4 separate regions of the Homo sapiens genome follow, and regions 1, 2 and 4 are each linked to region 3. Evidence: promoter capture Hi-C in 16 types of primary human blood cells and fetal thymus (Javierre and others, 2016). All regions are on one chromosome and are shown on one strand. Each heading gives the region's core, a stretch centred on a gene start or on the middle of the fragment in contact. The rest is flanking DNA. Distances are from core to core; before and after follow the strand shown.

Evidence for each region. Contacts are between HindIII fragments. The CHiCAGO score rates a contact against its expected background, and 5 or more counts as called.
Region 1: a fragment that was not itself captured here is called in contact with the fragment with the promoter of VEGFA in region 3 in 6 of 17 cell types (erythroblasts, monocytes, megakaryocytes and 3 more); the score reaches 8.1 in erythroblasts.
Region 2: a fragment that was not itself captured here is called in contact with the fragment with the promoter of VEGFA in region 3 in 7 of 17 cell types (megakaryocytes, erythroblasts, monocytes and 4 more); the score reaches 8.8 in megakaryocytes.
Region 4: a fragment that was not itself captured here is called in contact with the fragment with the promoter of VEGFA in region 3 in 1 of 17 cell types (M1 macrophages); the score reaches 5.3 in M1 macrophages.

The regions. Positions count from the first base shown.
Region 1 is chr6:43,929,699-43,936,423 of GRCh38, reverse strand. It overlaps LINC01512 (long intergenic non-protein coding RNA 1512), which reads right to left. Exons shown (of 2, transcript NR_024478.1): 2 at 1-60. Among named protein-coding and RNA genes, the nearest start is that of LINC01512, 42 kb to the right of the region's middle. The HindIII fragment of the contact is 7,713 bases long and covers 507-6,725 here.
Region 2 is chr6:43,976,873-43,983,608 of GRCh38, reverse strand. No RefSeq gene overlaps it. Among named protein-coding and RNA genes, the nearest start is that of LINC03040, 20 kb to the left of the region's middle. RefSeq lists an enhancer at 5,813-6,072. The HindIII fragment of the contact is 2,539 bases long and covers 1,234-3,772 here.
Region 3 is chr6:43,766,476-43,773,624 of GRCh38, reverse strand. VEGFA (vascular endothelial growth factor A) reads right to left here and starts at 3,414. Exons shown (of 8, transcript NM_003376.6): 1 at 2,313-3,414. The coding sequence starts at 2,918. RefSeq lists enhancers at 1-691, 692-1,457, 1,458-2,223, 2,224-2,989 and silencers at 1,445-1,964, 2,035-2,974, 3,352-3,601. The HindIII fragment of the contact is 11,673 bases long and covers 1-7,149 here.
Region 4 is chr6:43,911,687-43,918,869 of GRCh38, reverse strand. All of the region lies in intron 1 of LINC01512 (long intergenic non-protein coding RNA 1512), which reads right to left. Among named protein-coding and RNA genes, the nearest start is that of LINC01512, 24 kb to the right of the region's middle. RefSeq lists enhancers at 4,923-5,712, 6,786-7,183. The HindIII fragment of the contact is 3,164 bases long and covers 2,772-5,935 here.

The sequences.
Region 1 (6,725 bases), core at 3,114-5,613, 160 kb before region 3:
CATGGTCCCTGCCCTGTCTTCCCTTCCAGAAGCGGGAGCAGAAGGCATGGGGACAGCCAGCTGTGAGGAGAGAAAGCAAAGATATAAGTCACAATGCCTGAGATGAATTTGGGTAGGAACATGCTTTATGCAAATAGGCACACACATCTACCCCAGGGTGGGGAGGACATGTGCAAATCAAGGCTCCAGAAAGTCCTGACAATGAGGCTCCCTGTTCTAATGAGTGGGACACTAGGATCCCTCAAGTTTGTCTGTGGACTGAACTTGGGTCTTCCTACTATATCTGAGACACAGCCCTCCCATTCTGGCGCCTCCCTTGCCCTTGTGGACCTCCTTCTGCCTGCCTCGTGTGGTCTGGCCCTGGGAAGCCTCCCAAAGGGTCTGGCTTTCCTCTACTTGCCCCAGGCTGCACCTCAAATGCCCTCCAGCTGCTAACCACTGCCCCGTTCAAATGGGAAGGATCTGTGGCTGCCTGTCCCCCACAACTGCAGTCTCTACCTCAAGCTTGGCCTGTCTCCACAAAAGGGGCCAAAAGAGTGGTCTGCCCATCAGAAACACTGCCTCCCCCATGGGCCCTCATGCTGTTCCCAGCAATGCCCAGCATACAGAAGATGCTCAGTAGCAGATGAATGGTGGAATCAACGAATGAATAAATGAAAATTCAAAGGCACGATCATTTCCCTCTGGGGACTGTCAATGCTCCCCTTCTGCTTCTTGCTCACCAGTTTTCACAGCTGTCTGTGCATTGAAGCTGGAGTATTCGTACTCTTTCTTCGTGTCCTCAACCAGCCTGAGTGCACCACAGGCAGGAGTGTGCCCTCTTCATCTCCCTGGTCCTGACACCTTTCATGGAGGGCTCTCAAATAGTGGTTGCCTCAATGAACACAGAAGCATGTGGTTTACAGATGTCTGTTTACTTCTCTGTTCCCCTCAGTGGACCAAGAGTACCTAGAGATGAGGACAGGCTCTCTCCTCTCTAGAGCTCAGGATGCACTCAATACGTGGGGGATGGACGGATGGATGGATGGATGGATGGATGGATGGATGGATGGGTGATTGGGAACCACAGGGGCCCTGACCTGATGTTAGGCCTGTCTTTCCCATTAGACTCCGAGGGGCCTGACTCCCTGGGCAAATAAAGGATGGAGTGAAGGGTGAACAAGTGAAAGAGTGAGTGAATAAATAAATGGCTGAGTCCTGTCTGGGATCAAAGGAGACCGTTGGCTGCCTTACGCAGCCCATGTTGCCCAACACACTGACACGCATGTGTTGTGCTCAGATCTGAGCTCCTCTCCAAATTTCTGCCCTGGGGCCTGGTCCAGCCTCCAGGCCTTTGCTCCCACCACACCCCTCCTCACTCCCACGCCCTCCCACATCCCTGACTCCCCTTGGTTCTTCCAGTGGCCTTGACCCCACCTGCCCAGCTGTCTGACCCAGAGCCCCACAGCCTCAGGGTGGGTTTTTTTCCTGCTTTCCTTTAAGAATAGGGGTCACGTTTAACTCAAGAGCCAGCCACACCTTCTGGGCTTGAGTTCCTTCTGCCACCTTCCTGAGGGAAAGAGACTGAATTTTCTCCAGTCTCAGTTTCCAAATCTGTAAAATGGGGATAATACCGATGATTAAGAGAATTAGATGGGGTTCCAAATTGACCCTGGGATGGAGCAGCTGCTTGGTCAGTACTTGGTGCATGGGGCTTTCCTTCCCTTCTTGTCCCCGCCACTGCCCCTGCAGGCCTCATGGGGCTTCTGTCTGTGGGGCCCAGGAGAGCCACCTTGCTTTCTAGAACAGGACTAGAAGCGACTCGCTCCTCTTGAAAGTGAGGATCCTGGAGCTGGGATGGCAGGAGGGCCCAGCCTGTGAGCCAGAAGGACCATTAAGCCAGAAAAGAGGAGATCCTGAGAGAGGATCAGAACTGGAACATATGCATGAAGGGTTCTAAAGGAACAACTAGAACTGAAATGAGAGAGCTCGAGATTAGACAAGAGACAGGACTTCCCCATTCTGAAGGCTGAGGAAGAAGCACAGTGGCTGAGGCAAAGCCAGGGCACTCCTGCCTGAAGTTGAAGGGAGCTTTGAAAAAAAAAATTATAATTTGAATTTATCTCCAGCTTCCAAGTTTTTAGAGTGTTTGCCTGATCCTCATCTTATTTCATCCTTATAACAAACCCTTAATGTGTGGCAACAGTGTAGCTTATCAAATAGATAGATAAGCATTGTGACTCCCCTCCTACATGGGGAGGAAAAAAGGTTCTGAGGCCTAAGGTTGCCCAGCAGAGGCACAAGGAACTGGGCTAGAGCTCTCTCATGAAGCTCTTAGGTTGTCAGCTTTCCCTCACCCTTTCCGAGGCTTAGCAAGTCTGCATATTTTTTGACGCTGAAGTTTGATGCTAATTTCTTTGCTTGGCTAAGAAAAACACGAGAAATGAAGAGTAGGGGAGGTTTTCCCATACTGTGGAGTGCAGTGACACCCAGGTGTGTGCCTTTACCTCTGGTACTAGACTAGGACCAGCTTGGAGGTGAACAGAGAGGATTTTCTCCCAGGCAGGGAAAGGAAGACTCAGGACAGCCAGAGGGGGCTGGGCCTCAGATGGAGCCTGGGCTTCCATCAAAGGCAGACGCCTCTTTGACCCCATCTGGGCAGCAGTCCTTTCGTCCGTGTGGCCAGACCCCCCTCTCCATTCTCACCCCAGCCCCGGCCCATCTCTGCCTTGCCCCAAGCCTGCAAACAATGCGTTGTTGACAATCGTGGGGGCTAAACACTCGATAACACGGTCCCCACCACAGCAGACATCCTAACAGCGGGCAGGGCTGTGTGCTGTGACGGGAAGATGCTTTGAATACATCATTCTGTCAACTGAGTTTATTATTCTTTTGCTCAAGATAAACTGCAGCCGCCAACGAGGGGCTGTATAAATTCCAGGCTCAGAAGTCGAGCAGGCCCCACTCCTTGTTAAACACTCACTCACACACACGCACATTCACATAAATCGTGCTGAGAAAATACCACCCCGCCGCGGCCCCACAGGTCTCTTCGGGGCTCAGTAGCCTCTATCTCATGGGGTGGTCCTGGGAGCAGCTGCAGACATCAGGGGACCCAAGGCCTGGGCCTGCCCTTGGGCCACTTCCCTGGCTAAGGCTGAGCTGACTCCTTCTGGGGGCCAGAGAAGGTCTCCCCACAGGAGCCAGCTGTCCTTGGGGTCAAACCCAGCCTCTTGACTCCTGGACTTCTGTCTATCCAAGGCTACAGTCCTGCTGTGGGTGGCCAGGGCACCCACATGCCTGTACTGGGGAGGAGACAGGCTTCAGACCCAAGGGTGGCCATGGAACAGAAAGTGAACCCCAGTGAAGTCTTCAGAGACAATCAGCATCCATCCTGGGGGAAAGGGGACTCCATGAACCACCACTGCCCACCCCCACACAGAGGAAATGCCGAGGAATCCATGTCACTTCCACATGCTGGCAGAAAGGGGCATCTCCACGCCCAGAGCACACACCCAGCCCGTTCTTCCCAGGGCCCAAGCTATTCGCAGCTGCAGGGGAGGGGTCCTGTGGGCTTCATTTCCATCTCGCCCTGTCTCACTTGGGGACTTAGAATGAAAACAAAAACAAAACTGAAAAACACCATGCTGGGCGCAGGGACCGTAATAGGAAGCAGCAGAGTGCAGTGGAAGGAGCATGAGCTTTGGCCCTAGACCTGGGTTTCACTCTCCAACTAACAGTTTCCTCCTCCATAAAATGGGGAGTACAATTTCTACTATGCGGTACTGTCATGGGCCTGCAGTCAAAGCGAGGCTGTTTTACCGTTCACAATGCCCCTTTCCCAGTCACAGCCAGGCCAGGAAGTTCAGCATTATTATCCCCATTTTATGGAGGAGGAAACTAAAACACCAAGCAGAGTCCAAGGCATCTCAGGTTGTAAGCTCGTTTCAGTTCTAACTCCAAAGCATGATTATCACAATAATTTAGCACCTGCTGTATGCAGGGGAACGCACTGGATGTTGAGGGAACATATAGGAGTTTGACTTGGCCCTGAGGATACCCCCTACCTCCCACCCTAGAGTATGGACTCTGTCAGGGCAGGGGGCTGTCTTCTCCAGGGCATGTCTCCCCTTGCCTAAGAGGACCTCAGCACTAGCAGGCGAAGCCCTGGATTTGGGATTCAAGGACTGGTCTCACCACAGTTTTAGCCACATGACCCCAGGCAGGTTGCTTGATCTCTCTGAACCTCATTTTTCTCTTCCCCTTAGGGTGGAGTCTCCGGGAGGATGGCTGTGGAAGAACTGCCAATTCCAAGGGCCTGGTCAGGCAGAGGCATTCTTACTATTCCAAAACAAGGAAAGGGTAAAACCAAGATGTCAAAGGCCCCGCTGGTGTGGAAGCAAATTTCTGCCTCCACCAGCTGGATGGCTGCTACCCCTGTACAGGTTCCTAACACTGGAACAGGGATCAACCCAAGTGCTTGGGGCTCACCATGTCCTCCTCCCCAGCCAGGACAGCAAGTGGAAGACACAGGCGAGCTGAAAGAGGCTCACTGTGTGCCCAGCCCTAACCCCCTGCCTCATTGGCACCAGGCACCCAGGACTCCTCAGAACTCAGAGCCAGGGTTTGGGCAGCCTCCTCGTAGTGCTCCTTGAATAGGATTTATAGGACTTGCACCAGGAGCTTTGGGCCATTCCAGGGGACATTGCTTTGGGGGAAAAAAGGACCCAATATGGGTATCTAGAACTTGAAGCATGTCGTCAGAGATCGGAGCTCCAGGGAATTGGAAAATTATGCTTCAGAGGTTCCCAAGGGAATGATGGCCTGAATCCCACTCCTCCCCCAAAATAAAGCTCCTTTGACCTCTTTCGTATTTTGGGCTCCACTTAGTACCTAATTGAATGAAAGATTTTACTGCTAAAAAGCAACCGAGAAGTTCACTGATGGAGTTCAACTCTCTTATTTCACAAACGAAGAGACTGGGCTTCAGAGAGGACTGGCGAATGCAGTGGCTCAGAGATCAGAGCAGAGCTAGAGTTAGGCTCCTGGCCAAGTGCTTGCTCTTCCAACCTCGCCTGTCTACAGCCATTCCCCAGTGGGTCACCAAAGCTGGTGTCATAAAGATTCTGTCAAAATCACCTAGGCAGCTTGTCAGAATTTGAAACTTGGTCATCTGGATTCTTTGTAAGTTCCCCGGGTGATTCTAATCCATACCTGGGACTGGGAACCAGTGCTCTGGGCCAAGAAGGATGCTCCCAAATCGCTAACATAGAACCACATGCCTGGAGTGTGACCTTGGGTGGATTACTTTTCTCTGTATCTCAATTTCCTCATTAGCTAGAGAATAACAAGAGTGCCTGGTACTCAGCATTGCTGTAATGTCAAATGAGTTGGCCTATGACTGGCACAGGCCTCATCTTCTACACTGTGCCACTCTGCTCCTTCCTCACTGTGCTCCAGCCACAGCAGCTCTCTGGCTGTCCTTGAACTCAGCAAGCACGTTCCTGTCCCAAGGCTTTTGCAATTACTATTCCCTCTGCCTGTCATTTTTGTCCTCCAAATAGTCCTATGCCCCCTCCCATGTCTCCTTCAGGGGCCTGCCCAAATGTCACTGAATCAGAGGCTTTCCGCTCTCCACCCTTTCTCTTCACTTACTTTTTACCACCTCACCTATTTTCTTTTCTTCTCTGTTTTGTTGTTTTGTTGTTGTTGTTGTTGTTGTTGAGACAGGGCCTCCCTCTGTCGCCCAGGCTGAAGTGCAGTGGCACGAACATGGCTCACTCCTCCCTCAACCTCCCGAGCTTAAGCGATCCTTCCACCTCAGCCTCCTGAGTAGCTGAGATGACAGGTGTGTGCCACCATGCCCAGCTAATTTCTTGATTTTTTGTAGGGATGGGGTCTCCCTATGTTGCCCAGGCTGGCATTGAACTCCTAGACTCAAGCCATCCTCGCACCTCGGCCTGCCTATTTTCTGTGTACTCACTTCTTGGTTTATTGTCTGTGTCTCCCACTAAAATGGGAGCTCCCTGAGTGCAGGGACTTTGCCTTGCTTACTGCCATATCCTCAGCACCTAGAAAAGTGCCTGGCACTCAATAAATATTATTGATTGAATGAATGAGAAGAAAGTACTTAAGTTGTGCCAGGTACAAAGTAGGCATCTACTATATGCAGTTATTATTGTCATTCACATTTTCACCTACATTGGGATGTGGTAAAGGCCAAATATGGGGCACAGCTCCACCCCTAAGGGTGGTGGAAGAAGGAAAGGTGTACCTCACAGGCTATAGGAGGCCCACATGAGCTGTGTGACCTCAGGTAGCTGTGTCCATATCCCTGAGTCCCGGTCTCCTGTTCCATCCAATGGGACAGCCATGCTTGTTCTGTGTCTCGCCATTGCTGAGAAGGGTATTCAGGCAGCCATGTCTCTGCTGTTATTTTGGCTCTTAACTCAGAGGCAGATGGGACTCAAGGACGGATACCTGAGTGAGGTCACAACTTAGGGATCTAATGTCACCCTGACACGAGAGCAAAGTGGTCACCTCCTTAGTGATGCAGACACAAGGACAGCCCCCTCACCAACAGGGGACATGCTGAGAGCTCCTGACACGTGAAAACATGCCTCACATGGCTCCCTCTCTGCCACCTCCTCACACTCAGCTTCTGTTGATTGTACTGAGGCAGCTGGGAGATCGCTGTCGGCAAGGTGCAGGCCCTGCTGGGCTAAAACACACAAGGCAGCCCCCAG
Region 2 (6,736 bases), core at 1,254-3,753, 210 kb before region 3:
GCCTCAGTTCATCTGTCACAGCCTTACCTGTGGACAGGTGAACATGGAGAGCTAAGTGGAGCCTGCCTTGCGTCCACATTCAGGCTCTGCTCAAGCCTTTGTGGGAAGGGCCTCTGCATGGAGGGGGCACCCTCTCCCCACATCCCATAGCCAAAGTCCCATCCCTAGATCAAGTTCAGATGCCTCAACAGTTGGTATGAAAAGGGACCTAATTCCTCCCCACCACCCTGTGCAGCTCCGATCCCAGCCCTTCCCACCCCCAGGCCAGGCCTCCAGGGTCACTGTGAGCAGAGGGACTCAGGAAGGTCATGGTTTGGGGGCTGAGGGCAGAGAGTCCCAGGGGCAGGAATGGGGACTTCATCCATCTCTAAGTTTCCAGGTCTGTGTCAGGCAATCTGGCTCTGTCCTGACTCTCCAGAGACTGATAAAGGTCCGAGGTGGGTGAGAGATGTCCACAGAGTCTTTGCTACTCCTACTGCCAAGAGTTGGTTTCTATTTTCCCTCTCCTTGATTCTGGCTTGGCCTTATGACTTGCTTTGACTGAAAAAAATGCAATGATGCTGTGCCAGTCCCAGGCTCAACCCTAGAGAGGCCTGACTGCCTTCCCTCCCTGTCTCCTCTTCCTCCAAGCCAGGCACCGTGCTGTAAGGAAGTCCAGGCTATTCTGCTGGAGAGAGAGACTCTGGAGGATCAGGCACTAAGAGGAGGCACACGGAAGCCGGTTGATGGCACGGAGGCTTCAGAGTTGCCATTGAGGCCACCCTGGACCTTCCAGCTGAATGCAGCTGATTAAGTGGCCTAATCCCAGGTTAGACTTGCAGAACAGCCAGGACTACCACCAGAATTGTGAGAAATTAAGCCATTATTGTTTTAAGGCACTATGTTTGGGAATAGTTTGTTTTGCAGCCATAGAAAACTTGGAGGGCTGTATCTCAGAGGTCTTGTGACTCCAACACTGTGGGATTTCTGAGAGCTTACCTAGAAGCTGGTTCCCCAGGGCGTATGGAGCAACACACATCTCAGACACTGTAGGCACAAGGTCTTGAGCTGCAGGGATTCACTGATTCTAGAATTTTGACACCCAGGGAGACCATGACCAGCCCCTTCTCAGCTGCTCTCCCCATCACCTCCCATCAGAAAGCTTTCCTCCAAACTTTCCAGCCTCCAACCAGTTTCCACTCTGGCTCAGGCTTGTAGAGCCTGGGCAGAGTGTAGGGGCAGAACCAGCAAGCTTTGTCTGGGGTGGCTGGCAGTCTCCTCTCTCTCCATGTGCCCCCCATCAAGGTCAGCTGGGTGAAGAGGCTGCTGGTGAAACATCCTGTTACAGATGCTGCCCAGAGATGTCAGAAGATGTCAAGGCCATGCAGGGCAGCCAGGCCTGGGCTGCAGGAGGCATAACAAGGGCGGCAGATGCTTGTGTCCTGCTCTGGAATGTTCTGGTGTTCAGCCTTTTGCAGAGGACAGAGAAGGCTATGAGGTATCAACACTGGAGAGGATAATGCTGATTCAAGCTCCATTGCAGAGGACAATGGCCTTTCCCAAGTTTGCTGGTTTGGTGTTTCTGTGGCCTGGGCTATCTTGAAGGGCTAGGGAGGCTGGACAGTGTAGGCTTGAGCCTGACCTCTTGATACCATATTCACCCTGCTGTTCTGGCAACTGGCCTGGGGGTTGTACAGGGGAGGGCCTTCTCACTGCGACCCATGTCCTCAGGGCAGGGCCTGGGCTGTGAGAGACGTGACCCTGGAGGTCCCTTTGGACCCCCAGGATCTCAGTTACAGGGTTTCCCAAGAACAAAAATGCCCGGCCTGCCCATGGGTGGTCACTCAGGCCCACCCAGGCTCCCTGGGTTACCTTTGCCCTGTGGGGACTAAGTCTCTTTGGCTCCTTCTGGGGGCTTCTGGGCCTTGGGACACTGCTGTGAATGTTGGAAACAGCTCTGACTTCCCTTGCAAGTGATCCTCCTGCCAATCCCTTCCCCACCCAGGAGCCCACCAGGGTGATCATGGCTGTGGGGAAGCCAGATATGGGCAGCTATGCCCCCAGGAGGTGTCTTGCACATATCCCTGTCTCCAGGGCAGGGGTGTCCTGGCTGAAAATCTCCCTTCCCTAATGCGGAGGGGAGAGTGTTTCATAGGTCACCAACTGCCCCTCAGGGCAACCCTTCTGGCTGGCCCCACCTGCCTGGAGCCAAATCCCCAAGTTCCAGCTCAGTGAGGAATTCTCCACACAACCTAACCAACTCACTGTCCCCTCTCCCATAAAGAAGAATAGAAACTTCTTCAGGTCTAGCTCTCCCAGCTCTGCTATCCTGGGGTTCTCTATAGGTACCTTGTTGCATCCTTCCTTCTTCCTCTCTCCCCTTGGGTAAGTTAAGGAACATCTCTGAGCCCCTATATCCTTGTCTATTAAATGGGATCGTAAGACCCACCTTGGAGGGCAGAGGGTTGTGAACTTTTTTTTTTTTAGAATCAGGGTCTTGCTCTATAGTGGTATGATCATAGATCATAGCTCACTGCAGCCTCAAACTTGGGCTCAAGTGATCCTCCTGCCTAAGCAAGTAGCTGAGACTGTAGGTACGCACCACCATGCCTGGCTAATTTTAATTTTTTTAGAGACAGGGTCTCACTATGTTGCCTAGGCTGGTCTCACACTCCTGGCCTTAAGCAGTCTTTCCATCTTGGCCTCCCAGAGTATGGGATTACAGGCGTGAACCACTCTCCTGGCCTTATAGTAAGGATTAAGTGAGGAGGTAGGAAGGAGGAATGGAGGGAGCATCCATCTAAGGGCCTGAGCAGAGGGAACTCACAGCTGAGAAAGGACCATACCTGCTAAGGCCTCAAGTGGTAGCTGCCCGTGTATCTGTTCTAAGCCTGCATCCCCATTCTGTGCCCATCTTGTGTCTGTTCCAGGCCTTGCATGTCTGTCCTCTGCACCTAACCTGTGGGCCCATGAGGCCCACACGTGTTTGGCCTGCACTTGCCATGCAGTGGGGAGGACACAGCATGAAGGCTGTGCTGACGACCCTGGGTAAACAACCTTTTTTACTGCAACATGAGCACAGATGGTTCTCCCTTGTACAGTGGACAATGGCTACCTTGTGTGAGTGAGAAGGAAAAGTGGGTACTTGTAATTGCTGATTTGGGCTGGGTCCCAAACAGGCTTGGAAAGGGCCAAGCAACAGGGGGCCTGGAAAGCCAGCGCCAATGTCTGGGGGTGGGTGGGCATGCAGGAGGGGGCTGGGGTGCAGCCCAGGAAAAAGTGGAGCTAAGACATTGAACAGGGAGAAAGTGGAGGAGCCCACATGCGCCGCTTGAGAAATGAACTGAGGCCGGCTGGGCAGGAAAGAAATGTGTGCGGAGAGAGGGCTCAGCAGGGCTGGGCGCAGGGAGGCTCTTCAGGGAGAGGTCTGGCTGCAGTTTCAGGCTGAGTGGCCTTTGCTTCATTCTGGCTCCCGGCCCCCTGGCTAGGGAAGCACTTAAGGAGAGAAGGCAGACTGGTCCTGAGGCTGGACAAAGCAGAGCAGAGCTCTGAAACCTTGCTAGGTACTTGGAATTTGCTGACTCCCACCATGACGTCCCACCTCCGAGCTTTCTCTGACTCTATGAAAATATTTTTCATACTCTGAAAAGCTGGCCCTGTAACACGCTGCTGATGCTGCTGATGGCTTGGTGAAGGCACAAAGAAAGGACCTTTACTGGACACTTTGGTCCAAATTTCTCTGTGCCCATCGCTTACTCTGACCTCTGCTTTAGAGGCCAGCTCCATGCAAGCTTCGTGGGCTCTGCAAAGGTGCAATTAAATGGCACTTTGCCTTGGCCTAGAACCTCCTACTTCCTGCCAGAGACTTCTCTGATGTCCTACGGGTGGACACCTGTGGAACTGCTTAGCGCTTAAGTAGTGCACACCAGAAGGGACTCCCCTGGAGTCACCTTTGTGCAATGGGGGATACAGGAGCCAAAGGATCCCTTTTTGCCCTTCTGGGTAGACTGTTTTGAAACACATTTCATAAGTCTCTTAAATAGATCTCTGTGGGGTCAACACCCATCACAGGGGTGGCCAACTAGATAACATATCCTTGTATTGGTTGACACCCTGTTCACTCTTTCCTCACCCTCATCTTTTGATCCTGTTCCTGGGATCACTTCCCAAATCAGCTTAGTTGCCCCTGAGACCAAAGCTCCCACAGGTTCCACTTTTAGGGGAAACTAGGCTAAGACAGAGGCCTCTGTTCTGAAAGAGTCCAATTTGGGGGTGCCAGGATGGGAGGTGAGTAGGAACTTGGGCTACAGAAGGAAGCTCTCTATCCTTCTATGATGAAAGCACAGGTCGCGGCTGGCTCCCTTCCTGCACAGAAACCCAAAATAGTGATGACCTGATATTTGCCTCACTGGCCTGCGCAGACTCTACCAGATGTGAGCACCTCCCCAGACCTTGACGCCTCAGGGTGTACCTCAAGGCTGGTGCTCCAAATAAGTAGCATATTTTACGCTGGTCCCTTGTGCAAGCACATCCTCTCACTCACAGGACCCACCCAGCCTTGCTCATTCCCTGATGCATAACTTCAGGAGCAGAGACTGGCCTCCTCCGATTCTTTCTGCAGGCAGTACAAGCTCAGAGACTGTTCTACTCGGGGCTCATGCAGGAGTGAGGAGCCCATGCAGACGCCCCCTGTGGACACCGCCACAGACAGGGCTTCTTAGACAGTCCTGCTTTCCTCTTCTGATGCTAGTGGGACAGCAGGGCTGCTGTGCGGGAAACTCTGCTCAGTTAGCTTACAGCCAGGACCCAGGGACACACAAGGGTGGGAAGCTAGATTGACCGGGGACTATAGCCTGAACCCACTACAGGTATAGCCATGCATCCTTCTGACCTTTGGGGTATGAGGAAACGCTGGTTCCCCCGTCCTTCATGACTTTCAGGCTGGCACTGAGTCATCAGCACCTCCTCCTTCTCCAGAAGCATCAATTTCTGGCAAGCCCAGCTTCTGGCTGGAGCCTAAGAGGAACCTTGGCCTTCAGCCTCATCATCTCCATTCTGAGTTCTTCCTACTCTTCTGTGTAACTTGCTCTACACACTCCCCACACTGACTGCCCCAATCCCTGTGCTTCTCTCAAGGTGTGCTGAGTGAATGAGAAGGAAGGAAAGAGAAGATAAGGATGGAGGGAAGGCCTGCCTGGGAGGTACGCGTGTGGGGCAGATATGGGCTAAAACCTTCGTAGAGCCACAGAAACCCAGGTGGGAGGACCTCAGAGATGAACAGGCTGAGCCCTCCCTGCTGCTGTGAGGCTCACTCATGCCCTTCCCAAGGCATCCATTTGCAGAGGCCTGGAGCAAGGGAAGCCCCTGGAATCCACCCTGGGTCTGTCTCCCTGTGAGACCTTTCCAGTTGTACCTCTGGAACTAATAGCTGACCCCCAAGGGTTTGAAGAAAGTGTCTATGGTGTGATGCTTTATTTTACATGTCCATTTGACTGGACTAAGAAGTACCTAGAAATCTGGTGAGGCATTATTCTTGGGTGTGTCTATGAGGGCGTTTCCAGAGGAGATTAACATGTGAGTCTGAGTGGACTAGGTGGGGAAGATCAGCCCTCAATGTGGGCCCTCCCATTCAACCCTGGGCAGGGTTCTCCCTGGCCACCCTCTTAGCCCCTTCCACCTTCTCACACCTTCTAACCAGATGTCACTTTCTCCACCCTCTTGTACTTTCTAACCAGATCTAACCAGATATCAACCTCTTATCTCACTAAGTGTGCATCCCCCCTCAGCTATGTGAGGAGACTTTGGCCCAAGAGGGATCAGGGACTCAATCAGGTCTCCCTCGAGGCCAGGCAGGGCAAGGACCAGCCTATGGCCGCGTTTCACTTCCCACTCTGCTAACTTGTCACCACACTCGCTGTCATCGCATGCTCTGCTGTGGTTTAGGCTGGGGGGCTTTCCAGAATAGCAGATTCCGAGTGCACAGTGACATGAGATATCTTTGGGACCAAAGTCCTGCCCATAACTGCGAATGAGCCATGCCTGTGGTCAGCACACTTCCTCAGAGCCAGTTCTCGATATTGAAACTTTAGTCCAGGAGGAGTTGTCTTGTGTGCTCTTGATGCTCCCCTGGTGGATGGCTGGGGTTTGTGGACCCGGATTTGGGTGTCTGGGGGAGACAACATTTGGATGGATCTGCTGAAAGCAGCAGTTTGGGGGTGAGTGCAGTTAAGGGCAGGCACCTAGCAAGAAGCTTTATTAGTCTTTTGGATCTTCTGTGGCAAAGAAACAAAATCCTTCCCCTTTAGTTTATTTAGGCAGAAATTGACTCTGAGAGGTAAATTACTGAACCAGGAGACTTACACAAGAACGTTCAGAGTAGCACTGTTCACAATAGCAAAAACCTGGAAACTGCCCAAATGCCCATGAGGAGCAGAGTGGATGGATGAGTTGTGGGGATGTGGTCACATAGTGAAACGTTACATAGCAGTCAAAATGAATGACATACTCCAACACAGAGCAATATGGATGAAGCTTGGCAACAGAAAATTGAGATGAAAAAGTCCCAATAGATTACGTACTGCATGATACCCTTTTTATAAAATTAAAAAACATTACAATTTAAAAAATAATTTTATGCCATTAAACTTCATAAAGCAAGGGAATGATGAACACAGGACTCATATGACAATTTCTGCAGATGGGGAATCGGGGGCAGGATGTGGGGCAGTGGTTAGATGTGGGTTATTGTCAAGGACTA
Region 3 (7,149 bases), core at 2,165-4,664:
CTTCTCCCTCCCAGGGTGAGGAGGTGCCAAGCCCCTCTCACCTGGGCACCTTCAAATGCCACCAGGGACCAGGGAAGGCTTTTATGCCTTGGCACTGCCCAGCCCCTAGGGGGCCCCCTGCACCACCTTAGGCCTGAGGCCTCCTCTAACCCTCCCCACCCGCATCAGATCATTCCTCCCCTCGCCAGAAGCTGTGAAGGTCAACACGCCAAGACATGCGGACCTGACAGCACCCAAAAGGAAAGGCTTCTGCCAGCCCTTCCTGGGGGTCTCCAGCTCTCACCAACTCCCCTCCCGCCCAGCACTCGCAGAGCAGAGGGGCACTCTAGCCTACGGAACACCAGACCCTGCTAGGGGAGAGTCCCACTGTCCATCTTTCTTTCCCTCTCCTTCCCACACACCCCAAATGCACCCCACTCAGGTACCCCAGCCCTGCTCCCAGAGACAGCCAAGGTCACAGGAAGCCCCTCTCAAGAGAAAACAACAGTTACCAGGCTTCCAGCTGGACAGCTTACCACTGCGGCTCCTGCAGGGACCCCCTGGATTCTGCACCTCAGCCCCCTCACCCATTCCCATGACACCCCCTGCCTTCCCCCTGACAATATTCTCCCGGGACCCTCCACTCCTCCTGGGCCCCAAGGAGGAAAGGGGACGGAAATTTCATACCCCTTCCAAGGCCAGGGAGCACAGGAGGGGCGGTTCTAGGCAGGCAGGGGCCAGGTGTCCTTCTCTGGGGGCCTCTGAAGGTCACACTGTGGCCAGGCAGCCACTCCTCCCCCTCCTCCCTACTTGGAGGCCTGTAGCCAAGGCCTTTGTGCCAGGGTCTGAGGAACTTGCGGTGTTAGCAGCGACCCCTGTCCATGGCTTTCCTCTTGCCTCCTCTCCAAGGGAATTCTGGCTGAGGGAAGGCGTCAGAGAGGAGCGGAAAGGGACCCTTTAGAGTCCCTTTCAGAAGCAAGTTGGGTGGGCAGGTTTGGAGTTCCAAAAAAACACCTGCTCCAGGGCTGCCTTTCACCAGGACAAAGTGTGTGCAAGGCTGGCAGGAGCTCCTTTCCAGGGTTCAGGAAGGACTATTCCCATGCTGCCCGTGTCACAGCAAATTTCAAGCCATTTCTCCAAAAGGGTAAAGTGGGGCAATGACTCTTCAAATCCTCCCTTGACCCACCCCCACGAGAGCTAAAGCACAGCTCACTCGGAACTGTTGGCGAGGGAAGGGAAGCACACTGTCACCAAGTCGGGACTTTCGGTGGAATGTGACAAAGCGCCCAGTGGGCTCCCGCGCCACGACTTCTGACAGTGATCATCCTTTCCCTGGACTCTGGGGCCAGAAAGGGGTTAGATGGATCTTCTCCGCAGAGAGAAATGAAAATAAGCGGGGTGACAGGGGCTTCTCTCCAGGCTAAAAAGGAAATGGGTGAAGAGAAGGGGCGTCAGGAAATTCCTCCTAGCACTGGGCAGAGGTAGGGTCTGGAGACAGTAGGAAGGGGTAGGGATGGTTCTCTGGATCCCCGGGCTGGGGCTACCTCGAGAGGTCACCTTCCCGCGGAGGGCTGGCGGGGGGAGGGGTGCCGCTCGCCACTCTGGGCTCCCCATTCGGGCAGCCGAGGCTCCGGGAACACGCGGCCGGCCAGGCCCGGGCTGATGTAATCGGCTCCGCGCCGCGCGCACCCGGCCGGGCGGGGGAGGGCGGGCACCGAGCGGGACGCGAGCGGGGACGGGCGGGGTTGGCGCGGCGCAGGTGGCCCAGCAGGGAGGGGGGGTCCCCGCAGCAATCCACCCCAAAACTTTTCCCAAACTCGCGGCGAGGGCTGAAGAGACCGAGTGGCAGTGACAGCAAGCCCCCTCTCCCTCCTGCGCCCTGCCCCCTCCACGCTCTCTGCCCTCCCGCGGTCCAAGGTCCGAGCACCCCCTGCCCACTGGTCTCTGGCTCCCGCCCCCGCTGCTCAGACTTCCAGTTCGTCCGGGACCAGCGGCCGGGAGCAAACTTCAGCCGGCAGCGGCAACGCAAGCCCAGCCCCCTCGGCCTCCTCCTCCGGCTCCCGCCCTCGGCTGGTCGGCCCAGATCGTACGTGCGGTGACTCCGGTGGGTGGGCAGGGCCCGCGTGGGCGGTGAGCCTCTCTCCGGGTACCCTCCCACCTAGCGCGCGCGCCCCCTCCCCCTGCACCTAAGACGACAGAGGGGGACGCCGCACGCCTGGTGCCCATGGACCCGCGTGGGGCACGGAGCCCCCACGCGCGCGCTCGCACGCACGTCCCCAGCCGGGAGAGGCGCTCGCAGCGGCCCGCGGCGCCAGCAGGGCACGACCGCTTACCTTGGCATGGTGGAGGTAGAGCAGCAAGGCAAGGCTCCAATGCACCCAAGACAGCAGAAAGTTCATGGTTTCGGAGGCCCGACCGGGGCCGGCGCGGCTCGCGCTCCCTCTCCGGCTCGGGCTGTGGGGCGGCCCGCTCTCCTCGGCGCCTCGGCGAGCTACTCTTCCTCCCCGGCCCGAGGCCCGGGCCAGGGCCTGGGGAGCGCGCGCGGCTGGAGCACTGTCTGCGCACACCGCCGCCTCACCCGTCCATGAGCCCGGCTTCCGAGCGCCGAGTCGCCACTGCGGCCCCCTCTCCTCTTCCTTCTCTTCTTCCTCCTCCCCCTCCTCCGGCTGCGGCTCCTCCCGGCCCGAGCTAGCACTTCTCGCGGCTCCGCTCGGCTCGGCTTCCCCCGCGCGGACCACGGCTCCTCCGAAGCGAGAACAGCCCAGAAGTTGGACGAAAAGTTTCAGTGCGACGCCGCGAGCCCCGACCCCCTCCACCCCGCCTCCGGGCGCGGGCTCCGGCCCCTGCCCGCGGCTCGCCGCCGCGTCCACTGTCCGCCGCCGGCCGGGGAGGAGGTGGTAGCTGGGGCTGGGGGCGGTGTCTGTCTGTCTGTCCGTCAGCGCGACTGGTCAGCTGCGGGATCCCAAGGGGGAGGGCTCACGCCGCGCTCCGGCGGTCACCCCCAAAAGCAGGTCACTCACTTTGCCCCTGTCGCTTTCGCTGCTCGCACGCCCGCGCGCTCTCTCTGACCCCGTCTCTCTCTTCCTCGACTTCTCTCTGGAGCTCTTGCTACCTCTTTCCTCTTTCTGCTGGTTTCCAAAATCCACAGTGATTTGGGGAAGTAGAGCAATCTCCCCAAGCCGTCGGCCCGATTCAAGTGGGGAATGGCAAGCAAAAATAAATTAAAACGAGAAACAATACAGTTTTAAAAAAAAATGTTTAAGAAAAAAGAAGAGGGATAAAACCCGGATCAATGAATATCAAATTCCAGCACCGAGCGCCCTGGCCGGTGAGTCCGCTGACCGGTCCACCTAACCGCTGCGCCTCCCGACAGAGCGCTGGTGCTAGCCCCCAGCGCCACGACCTCCGAGCTACCCGGCTGCCCCAAGCCTCCGCGATCCTCCCCGCTACCAGCCGACTTTTAAAAAAAAAAGGGGGGGGCGCATGGCTCCGCCCCGCCGGGACCCCGCCCCCGGCCCGCCCCGGGGGGCGGGGACAGGCGAGCCTCAGCCCTTCCACACGCGGCTCGGGCCCGGGCTCTGCGGACGCTCAGTGAAGCCTGGCCCGCAGCCCGCCGCAATGAAGGGGAAGCTCGACCCCCACCAAGGTTCACAGCCTGAAAATTACCCATCCGCCCCCGGAAACTCTGTCCAGAGACACGCGCCCGCGGGGCATTGGCGAGGAGGGAGCAGGAAAGTGAGGTTACGTGCGGACAGGGCCTGAGAGCCGTTCCCTCTTTGCTAGGAATATTGAAGGGGGCAGGGGAAGGCGGAGAGCCGGACAGGGACGGGTGGGGAGAGGGACACACAGATCTATTGGAATCCTGGAGTGACCCCTGGCCTTCTCCCCGCTCCAACGCCCTCAACCCCACACGCACACACTCACTCACCCACACAGACACACACGTCCTCACTCTCGAAGACGCTGCTCGCTCCATTCACCCAGCTTCCCTGTGGTGGCCGAGCGCCCCCTAGTGACTGCCGTCTGCACACCCCGGCTCTGGCTAAAGAGGGAATGGGCTTTGGAAAGGGGGTGGGGGGAGTTTGCTCCTGGACCCCCTATTTCTGACCTCCCAAACAGCTACATATTTGGGACTGGAGTTGCTTCATGTACAGAGAGCCCAGGGCTGGGCACAGGGGCCACAGTGTGTCCCTCTGACAATGTGCCATCTGGAGCCCTCATCTGGCCTGCAGACATCAAAGTGAGCGGCAGCCAACAGGCTGGAGTGACTGGGGTCCTTTGGGAAGTGTCCAGGGATGCTTCCCAGGGGAGAAGAATTTGGCACCAAGTTTGTGGAGCTGAGAACGGGAAGCTGTGTGGTTCCGGGGTTAGTCAGTGACTGGGAGGGAAGAGGACCTGTTGGAGCCCACGTATGCACTGTGGAGTCTGGCAAAACCCAAAGGGGGAGGCAGCTGGGCAGACAGAGGCCCTTGTTCCTGCTGCCCCCCCAACCCCAGATGTTGCCAGGGAACTGAGGCCAGGGGGCTGGTGGGGGCGGGTGGAGGCCAGGGCCTGCGTGATGATTCAAACCTACCCGCCAGCACTAAGGAACGTCTGTAGGCCAGCTGCCCAGAGCTCCCACCAGGCCAGGGGCCAAGGCTTCTATCAGCCCAAGCCCAGACTCATAGCTCATCTTCTGAATAGAAATGGGGGTTTCGTCTCAGCTCCCCCATTCCCTCAGGATCCCTTGGCTACTTCTCCAGGCTCACAGCTTCTCCCCTATCCTTCCCCCAGTCCCCTCCCTTACCTCCAAGCCCCCTTTTCCTCCAACTCTCCACATCTTCCCTAAGTGCTCCCAAAGGCCCCATCCCATTCTTGCATATAGGAAGCAGCTTGGAAAAATTCCTAGCTGGTTTCTGACCTGGCTATTTCCAGGCTGCCCCAGGGAACAAAGTTGGGGCTCTGAGGCCTGTGGGAAGAGTGGGACCAGTCAGTCTGATTATCCACCCAGATCTTGCCAGGGTCTGGCCTACAGCTGGCATAGCCTCTGTGGAGGCATGGACTGAGAATGGGAATGCAGCAATTTCCCTCAATTTAACCAAAACGCTCCAGGGAGCTTACCTAGTCAGCCCCATCCTCAGCACATGTTGCTGTGGTTTGGTGGAGGTGCTAGGTTACCTCCCCAGTACCCCCAGTTCCATCGGTATGGTGTCCTAAGGCCCTTATGAGGAAAAGGGCTGGCTCCCACCCACCCCAACCCTCCCTTTCCATCATTCGTGCACTAGTCCTGTCTCCACCACTTGGCAGGCTCCCCAGCAGCAGGGACAAGGTCTTTGTACAGTTAGTAAATGTTTATTTCCTGGCTCAGGGCCCCCTCCCAGGCAGGCCTCCTCACCTGGGCTCCATGCTCTAGGCTGATGAACGGGATATGGAAGGGAAGCCACTAACTTTCCTCCTTGTGCGCCTCTAGCACCCCAGGAGCACAAGCTGTAGACATCTTGGGGCAGGATGGAGGCTCTGAGCCCTAAGGGCTCATTCTGGCCCCCTCCCTTGCATCCCTTCTCAACTCGGCCTTCTTCAGCCCCTAAAAGAGCCAACAGACCTGAAAGAGCAGGTCTTAGTAAAAAACAAATAAACAAATCTGAAGCTAAGAGGAGGCTGGAGGGGTTCCAAGGAGGGATAGCCATCACCAGTCACTCCGTGGCCCCAGGCACCCCCCACCCCCATAAGCCAACTGTCCTCCATGGTGGTACCCAGCAAGGTGTGTTACAACAACCTGTTTGTGTTTCCCTCTGGGGCTTTGCCCAGGGATCCAGGGGAGTGAGGGCACAGAATTCCTTTTATATAAGGCTAGGATTACAACCTGGCCTAGGGGTTTTTGAGCTACCTTCATTAGGGCGAGAAAGTATGGCCCACCTCCCCCCTTCATTGTGGAGATATAACCTGGCTGTGACCTGGAGGGGTTAACTCTGGATCCCATGCCCCAGTGTGTTGTCACCGGCATTTACAACAATGTACTCTTAAGGACTCAGCCAGTGCCCACATTGTCACCAAATTAAAAGCTCAAGTCACCTAGTCACCTGAGCTTTCAAAAAAGGGGAAAAAGCACAAAACAACAATCACAAGACCACATGTATCTCTGTGGCATCTTCCCTTCCATGGGCTTAGCCCCCTGAACAACTTGACTTCACTTATCCTCACCTCCCTCCCCAGGCTGCTTGCTGCAGGGGAAGGGGCGTCAGAGCAGACTGTCTCCCCAAAGAATCCTCCGAAGGCCCAGAGAGGGCACAAAGGGGCCCAGGGTCACCTAGCAGATTGGGGGAAGGGGCAGTGAAGCAGAGAGCAGCCCACACAGAGGTCATGCTGGCTCCCAGTTGAGGGGCAAACTCGGCCCCGCTTGGAGGGCCTCACCTTGGGAGCGCAGTGGCCACTCCCCACAGTCTGTGGCTCTGAAGGCAGTTCAGAAGGAGCCAAGGAGGAAGGGGAAGGTGTTCCAGGTGAGGGGGAAGGGGAGAAAGGGGTGGGGGTGGAGAAAAGTGCGAAAGGCAGCCAGGAGCCAGCGGCGGCCCCAGACAAAGAAAGTAGTGATTGGGCCAAGGCACAATAGTTGTACTTTGTCCTGATGTCCTGTCACCTCCAATATTCAGGGAAACTCTCGCCTGTGTGGGTGTGGGTGGTTAATCTAGAAGCCGGTGGATGAAGGGACAAAATCTCTCCTGAGATTGGAAAGAAGGTGAGGAGAGAGTCACTGGGTCTTGCTGTTTTCCACACATTTCTCCAAGTGGCTTCACTGCAATGGAAGGAGGTCTTGTCCTTCACTCCATCCCCTGACCCCCAGGTGACTAGCAGGACACTGATCTGCAGGAAGGGCAGGATACAAACCTGGTGAATTGAAGGAGAGAGAATTGGGTTGGTTCCCCTCAATTCCCTGACCCTGACTGTGGGTCAATCTCTGTCTCTCTCTCTCTCTCTCTCTCCCCGCCTAGGTCTTTGCAACAAAGCATTAAAAAGACAAAGAGAAAGCAAAGGAAAGGGCCTCTTTGGTCCAGTGCCAATGTCCTAGCCCCATGTGGATCTGGAGGTTTGACTTGAGGTAATGATAAGTAATGATGGCCAACTGATAAAAAGATTGGAGCAGAGGAAGCCAAGGAGGGTAACTCTCCCAAGAGGATCCAGTCAGGAAAGGGGGAA
Region 4 (7,183 bases), core at 3,104-5,603, 140 kb before region 3:
GTCTTCCAAAGTGGCTGTATTGTTTTGCAATGAATGAGAGTTCATTCCCAAGAGTTCTGTTGCTCTGCATCCTCATCAGCAATTGATACTGTCAATTTTTTGGATTTTAACCATTCTAATAGTCTTTTTACAGGAGAAGGAAATGGAATTTTGAGAGGGGAAGTGGTAGAGTGGCAAAGACATTTAGTGCTCACCAAATACCCACATGCGCCCCACACTCCTCAGGCCCCTCACCATGAGGTAGGACCCTAGACCAGTCATGGTCAATAGGCTGTGAGTGAAAATGCTATCTGGCACTTCAGGGTCAAAGCATTTAAGATCTTTGCATAGCCCTCCTGCATAGCCCTCCTGCTCTTTTTTGCCTCTGCAGCAGCAACCAGAAAGCTCCGTGTTGAAATTTGGTACATCCAACATCCAGGGTCCCTAAGCAGCTATATGGAACAGAGCCCCTGCCAGTCTGCTTTAGCCAAATAGCATGAGCAAGAAAAAACCTCCGTGGTGTTAGCCCACAGATTTCCAGGATACTTCGTCACTGCAGCACAGCACGGCCTATCCTGACTCACACAGCCAGCCACTGGCTCATGCCTTTGGCATTATGCTGACATCATCAGAACCCCCGAACCTGGTGGTATACTGGCCCAGAAAAAAAGCTGCTTAAAGGAGGGAGATAGTTTAATAAACTAATGTTTACCAAGACCTACCACGTGCCTGGCCCCACTCAGGCTCTGTACCTACATTGTCTCATGTACTCCTCAGGCCTGTCTGGAGGAGACCTGCTACTGCCAAACAGCCTGCTCTAGCCTCTCCCCAGGCCTTATCTCCCCAGAGGCCATGTGGGATTGACATGCAACTGGGCTAACTTTCCGCCAAATAGTGCAATCCTTACAGGATACTAAAGGCAGATCTCCCCACCCAAGCCAAGCCCTCAAAAATTCCTGTATGTCCCCATGTTGCCCAAAAGGCTTTACCCAACTAAGAGGAAGCAAGTCTCAGAAGTTCTGTTCTATCTTCTGCTGCATCTTTTCTTCACACTCAGGCTTTGCTTTCTGCTAACCCCATCCTTTCTAGATTCCCAGTTGTCCAGAAGACACATCCCCATAGCGTTTAATAGGATTCTTCTTGGCCGGACGCCCGACCCTCTACTACGCTAAGCCTCAGAGCAGGCCACAGGCTGTGCTGCAACATCCACACTCTCCCTATTTCCCAATCACAGTGTGGGGGGCTGCCCTCAGGGCAGGGAGCCAGCCTTTCTCCCATGAAGTGAAGTGATGTGATGTTCACAGGGCTCAACATCAAGACCTTGACCTCATTAGCACAATGTTCTGGTCAGCGGGCTTGGGGAAATGTGATGATGTTAATTACGTGCTGATTTATTTAATCCCTGGTCTTGTGAAATACAGCGCACTTGCCTTCCCCTCCTTCCCCCAGGGACTATAAACTGCTGGGGACCGGGCAGGGGGTGGGGCAGGAGGGCGAGGGCCAGTGGACTGGACTCTGAGGCCACACAAACCTGGATTCAATTCCTAGCTACTGTGACCCTGGGTTACCTTCCTGAACCTAGGATTGGGTAAGGATTATGGGCTTGGCACTGTGCCTGGCGCAGAGGAAGCTCTTGGTAAATTGTAGCCATTGGTATCATTATTGTTAATTATTATTTTAGTCTACTAACTGAAGGATGATTTTCCATTGCCCCATCTCTATTCTTGAGAGGCAGTAGGCTGTAGACCAGTGTTGACTAATAGAACATTCTGCAATGATAGAGACATTTAATATCTGTATTGTCCAATGTGACAGTCTCTAGCCACATGTGGCTGCTGAGCACTTGAAAGGTGGCTAGTGCAGTGAGGAACTGAACTGTAACTGCATTGAACTTTAATGAATTCAAAGTTAAATAGTCACATGCTTTTAGCGGCCACTGTATTGAATGGCACAGGTGAAGAAGGTAAGAGTACAGGCTCTGGGATAGATCCTGCTCCTGCTACTTCCTTGCTGTAAGACCTTGGGCCTGTTACTGGCTGCTCTGAGCCACAGCTTCCTTATCTGTAAAATGCAGATATGATAGCACCAATTTCCCAGGGTGGTTTCGAGGATTAAACATGTTAATGGATATAAAGTGCCCATTTTGGAAGTGTTCAAGGAAACTTAGCTATTATGATTACTCTCTTTGGCACTAATGCTGGCCTGGAATCCATGGGCATGACTGTGTCTGCATTCTGACGGCAGGATCTTGAGTTCAGGGCCTCTGTTGGCTCCTATTCTGAATCTCTCCTGGGCCCAGCCCAGGGAGAAAACCCATGTCCATTGGACAGGGAGTGCAGGAGACTCAGAAAGCTTTGAGGATACAGATAGGAGACGCCCCAGTTGATAGCCCAGCCCACGCTGCCCCTCTTCCCACAGCGGTGGTGGGACGGTTGGCCTTCTCGAGAAGAGGAGGGCTGTGAGGGGCAGGAAAAGGCAAACCTGAGAGAGGAGCTTTGATGGGCTCAGGGTCAAGAGGCTTTCTCTGTTCCAATCTCCTGAGTCAGGGAGCTGTAGGAGCCAAACTGTGTCCCTTCAACCCCCTCTCCAAACACTGGGGTTTAATTGATCCACCTGCCAAACTCAGCCAGAAGCCAGAGGTCAGAAGGCTCTACCAGAAAACAGCAGGCTTCTAAGAAATGGAAGATCTGGGTTCAACACCAGGGCACTGGAGCCGAGTCTTTGGAATTCCCCTTTCCTCTTCACCCAGATGAGGAACTGAACTCCTTGATTTCAGGGAATGGATGCAAGCTTGTGTCCTTTCCACTCAGTTTCTTCCACAACTAAAGGTCTGAGGGCAACAAGGGTGTGAGGGCCATGTGGGGATTTCCAAACCCCAGGACTTCTTGGTGTCCAAGAGGCATGACCTCAACTTGTCCCAAAGAACAAAACAGCATCAGAAGCTAAGGACCCTCTGAAGGTCTCCAAAGTCCCCACCTTCTTTCTGTCTCTCTCCTCACCTGTCCTGGACTCAGTAGGAAATGGTAGGGTCTGAAGGCAAGGCCCAAGTCTCCTCTGTGAGGCGGCCCAAGAGAACACCTGTCTCTCCCAGCAAAACCTCAGAGCCCCCTCCTTCCCAAGTGTTTGAGACTCTGGCTTCGCAGCCAGGAGCAACCCACCCTGCAGAGCCACAGAGAAATGCCACAGTCCCATGGGACACAGAAACAGGACGTGGGGCAGGGTGGGGGAACCATCTTTGCTCCACTCTTTCCCTGATATCAGGGTAAAAGACAGCAGGAGGTGTGAGCTCGGATGCCAGGAGGGCATCCTGATGGTGGGACATATGAACCGGTGGGTTGTAGGAGCCAGTTATATTAGACTTTCTGGTCTGGCTGATGGTCAGGGTTCTGGGAGAGGGGGAAGTGTGGGATTTAAAAGACACAGGATACATGGCTGATATGATCTCTCAGCTGGACTTGGAGTCAGACCGATTTAGGTTTAATCCCAGCCAGGCCGCTGACTGGCTGGGTGACCTTGGGTTAATTATTTAATGATACTTCTATTCAGCTTCCTCATCTGTAAAATGAGGGTGAAGAGATTCACCACCAAGGTTTGGAGGAGTGGGGGAGGCAAATGGCCCTAGCCCAGTGCCTGGCATGTACTGGGGAATAGAGAGGTGGCTGGGGGTTTAGGGTGCACAGGAAAGGGAAGACCCGCAGGAAGGCAGGCTGAGAGTGGGGAGCTAAGTCCCCTAGTGGGAAAGACTGATCTCCACATCAGGAGATGATCTGTGGTCCTGCTCCAGACCAAGAAGTGGGCCCTCCTCCATGTGCCCAGGCTGACAGTCTCCCGCTCGCCTGCCCTGCTCCTGCACCCCACTTTAGGGCAATCCTGGGGGCACTGCCAGAGAACTGGGAGGCCTCCCTGGAGATCTAGGCTCTTCTGGCAGATGCCCATCCCCCTTTGTCCTGGGGCCTCTCGTTTGCCAATCCCAGGAAGCCCCTTGCTCAGAGGGAACTGATTTCCCCTAGACAGCCTTGCTCCTCCCGCTGCAGGACTCTCAGGGAGCCCTAAGAAATACCATGGGCTGTGGGCAGCCGCCGAGCCTGCTTCAGATCCAGCTCTGGTGAGTGTTGGGGCTGGGAAGCCACTGGTGATCTGGTGGTGTCAGCTCGTAGGCAGGTTTGCTCAGAGACCCACTTACTACTGGACTCAAGTGTAACTTCAAAGACCATCTGGACCTTGTGGGGGTGCAGGAAGGAAGCTGGCTTTGCTCGACTGGCACCATGGCATCAGCTGGCCCTGTTAAGTGGCCTTCGAGGACCTCCCTCCCCTGTCCCCCCATGATGAGTGAGAAGGACTCTGCCCACTGGGCTGTAAAGAGCCTCACAAAGTCAGCTCAGGCAAGACTCCCTACTTGCCGAGGAGGAAAACAGAGAGATGGGGAGGGCTTGGGATTCCGGAGCTTATGGACCCAGTGGGTGTTTCAATTCAATTCCAGGCCTCTTGGATGCAAAGGGGCAAAGCTCTTGTTGTGAGTTGAGACACAGCCCCTACCCTCTTAGACTGGGGATTTTCTGGGAGCAGGGCTGTGTTCCCTCATCAGATTGGCCCTGGGGGTGCAGGTAGGGGTAGAGGGTACCTCAGTTAGCTGTGACTTACTCCCACAATCAGAGTAAGACTGCAGTGTCTGCAGAAGGAGGAAATCTCTAACTCGTGATGCACAGGATCTGAGAGTGATTCATTACCAATGAGATAATATGGGGAGAGGAGGGGACATTTTTAACTTTCCTGAGAAGCTGTGGACCCCTGAGAAGATCTCTTGGTTTTCCTCCCTATCTTCTTCATCTCCTCACCACTGCTAGTCCTAACAGAGAGAGGAGAGCCAGGGATGGGGTGGCATCAGAGTAGGGCTGGGAGTGTAGCTGAGGTGTGGGGAGTCGGCCTGCTCCAGGGACTCCCTCCTGTTCTTTCAATCCCCTGTTCTGCATCCCTCAGCTGGCCCCTCTGGCCTCTCTGCAGCCTTGTCTTGCCCAGTGAGACACTAGCTGGGTACCTCCCTCCCTCCAGCTGCCCACTGCCAGGTACAGAGGATAAAAATACCCAGTGGAAAAACACGTGGCTCCAGGTCAAACATTAACCTGCAGGGCCTGGTGTGCCAGCCACGGTGTCCCTTCCCAGGCCACCTGGCCACCAACATGTGGCTGGTAGCAGTGTCCTCTCCCTCTGACCATCACTGAAATTCTCAGACACTTACCCACATGCTTCCTGCAGGAATTCTTCAGAAAGCAAACAGGCACCCACCTGAGGACCCCAGCCCCAAGGACCTAGGCCAGCCAGCCCTTCCAGACTGCCAGCTGCAGGGATGCTCCTCTCTCCTGCTCAGCCTGGGGTCTTCCCTGAAGCTCTCTGGGGTTCCAAGTCACCCCAGCTCCCAGCTGAAAACAGCCCCTCTGACCCTCTGGGGGAGGAGCCCAGCTCAGAAATCCTTAGTTCCTCAGGTTTCCCTTCTACTGCAAAGCTGAGCTCACTTAGAGCCAGAAGGACGGAAGACAGAGGGAAGGGAGCGGGGAGAGGAGGGGGTCTGGCCAATGCTGGCATCCACCTCTTAGCACGCTGGGAGGACACCTGGAGGAGGTACTGGGGAGAGGCGGGCTGGTGAGAAGTTCCAGCCCTGCCCCTAACTTGCCCTACATGCCCAGCTCTGTTGTTCTCTGGGCTGTGAGTCCAGACAGGTGGATGTTCCTCCCGTGGGCCTGGATGGCTCTACGCACACACCTCAGGCCCACCAGGTACTACCAGGCAGGGCCTGCTGGAGGCCACCCCCACAGCTGCCTGAGGCACAGAGCTGGGACAGCCTGACCCTTGGCCCCGACTCATCACACACTTCTGGGGTCCAATGCCCAGTGGTTCTAGGAAATGCCTACACTGCAGCTTTGAGCCTGGGCCAAATGCCCCATTTTCTGTCAAGGAAGCTTGACGGTGCGCGGTGAAGAGAGTACAGTCCATCTGGCCACAGCATGCTGCCCATCATTCTGGCCGCCTGAGGGTCGATGGGCCCTGCATGGAGCATGGAGCCTAGGAGGGGTTTTGGGGGCCCTGGGGTGTCTCTGGGGTCAGGAAGCACTTTGATATCTATGGCAGCATCACAGAGGCATGGCAGAGAGTATGTAAATATTAACTTTGAAGGGGAAGCAGAGGGTTTGAGCAGAGGTCAGCAAGGGCCTCGCAAGAGCGAGTCCTGCCCTGGGTCAAGAGTCCAGCACTGGACAGAGAGTTAAGAGGCCTGGAGCCTGACCTCTGAGAAACAGTGAGGTTCCCCCAGGCACAGGGATTCTCACCCAGGACTGTTCCCCAGGTTCCTTGAGACATTTCCCATCAGGGCGATGGTCACCATGTCAGGATAGGGCTCTGGGGACAGCTCCTGAAGGTCTGGCCCTGATGCTGAGCAAATCGGGGCACACAAGAAGCGCCATGGGCCTTGGAAGCCTTTGGTTTGGAGCCAAGTTCTGCCATTTAAGAAGCCACAGAGTCTTGCATGAGTTACTAAGCCTCTCTGAACCTCAGTTAACTTATCTATAAAATGGGGACAAGAGTGTCCAGCTCTCAAGGTGTTCCAAAGAACGCCTTGTTAAGTTAGCTGATCTTTATGTCGTGCCTGGAACAGAGAATTTATTATACAGGTGCTTGCTCTGGTCGTTTTTTTCTCTCCATTCTGGGCCTCAGTTTCCTCATCTGTAAAATGGGAATAAGGAGGCCCAGCTCACAGGACTAAATGAACTGGTCTTTACGTTGTTATTGCACATGGACCTTGTTCTGTAACTATTAGCATGGTTATCATCTGCTCTCCTCAGTTCCCTCACCTGGATTTGGTCATCTCTTAGGACCTCAGCTGGAGATCAGGGCCCTCAGCACCTGCTCCCTCAACACAAGCACACACCCTGCTCTTCCCCCTCCCTGCCTAGGCCAGAACTGCATCATATCTCCCTCATTATCATCCTGACATTTGCTTTGGCTGTGAAGCAATTACCTGCTGAATTGAACAAAGGCGGAGGAGGGAGGCAGATCATAGGATGGCCAGAAGTCGGGCTTTGGAGAGAGCCACAGGCAGAGGTGTTAGTCCATGCCCTGACCTCAGATCCCAGAAACAAAGCTGATGATGCAGGGAGGTGGGTGTGAGGTGGGGGTCAAGATTCAATTCCCCTAGCTGAGGAGCCGGAGCTGG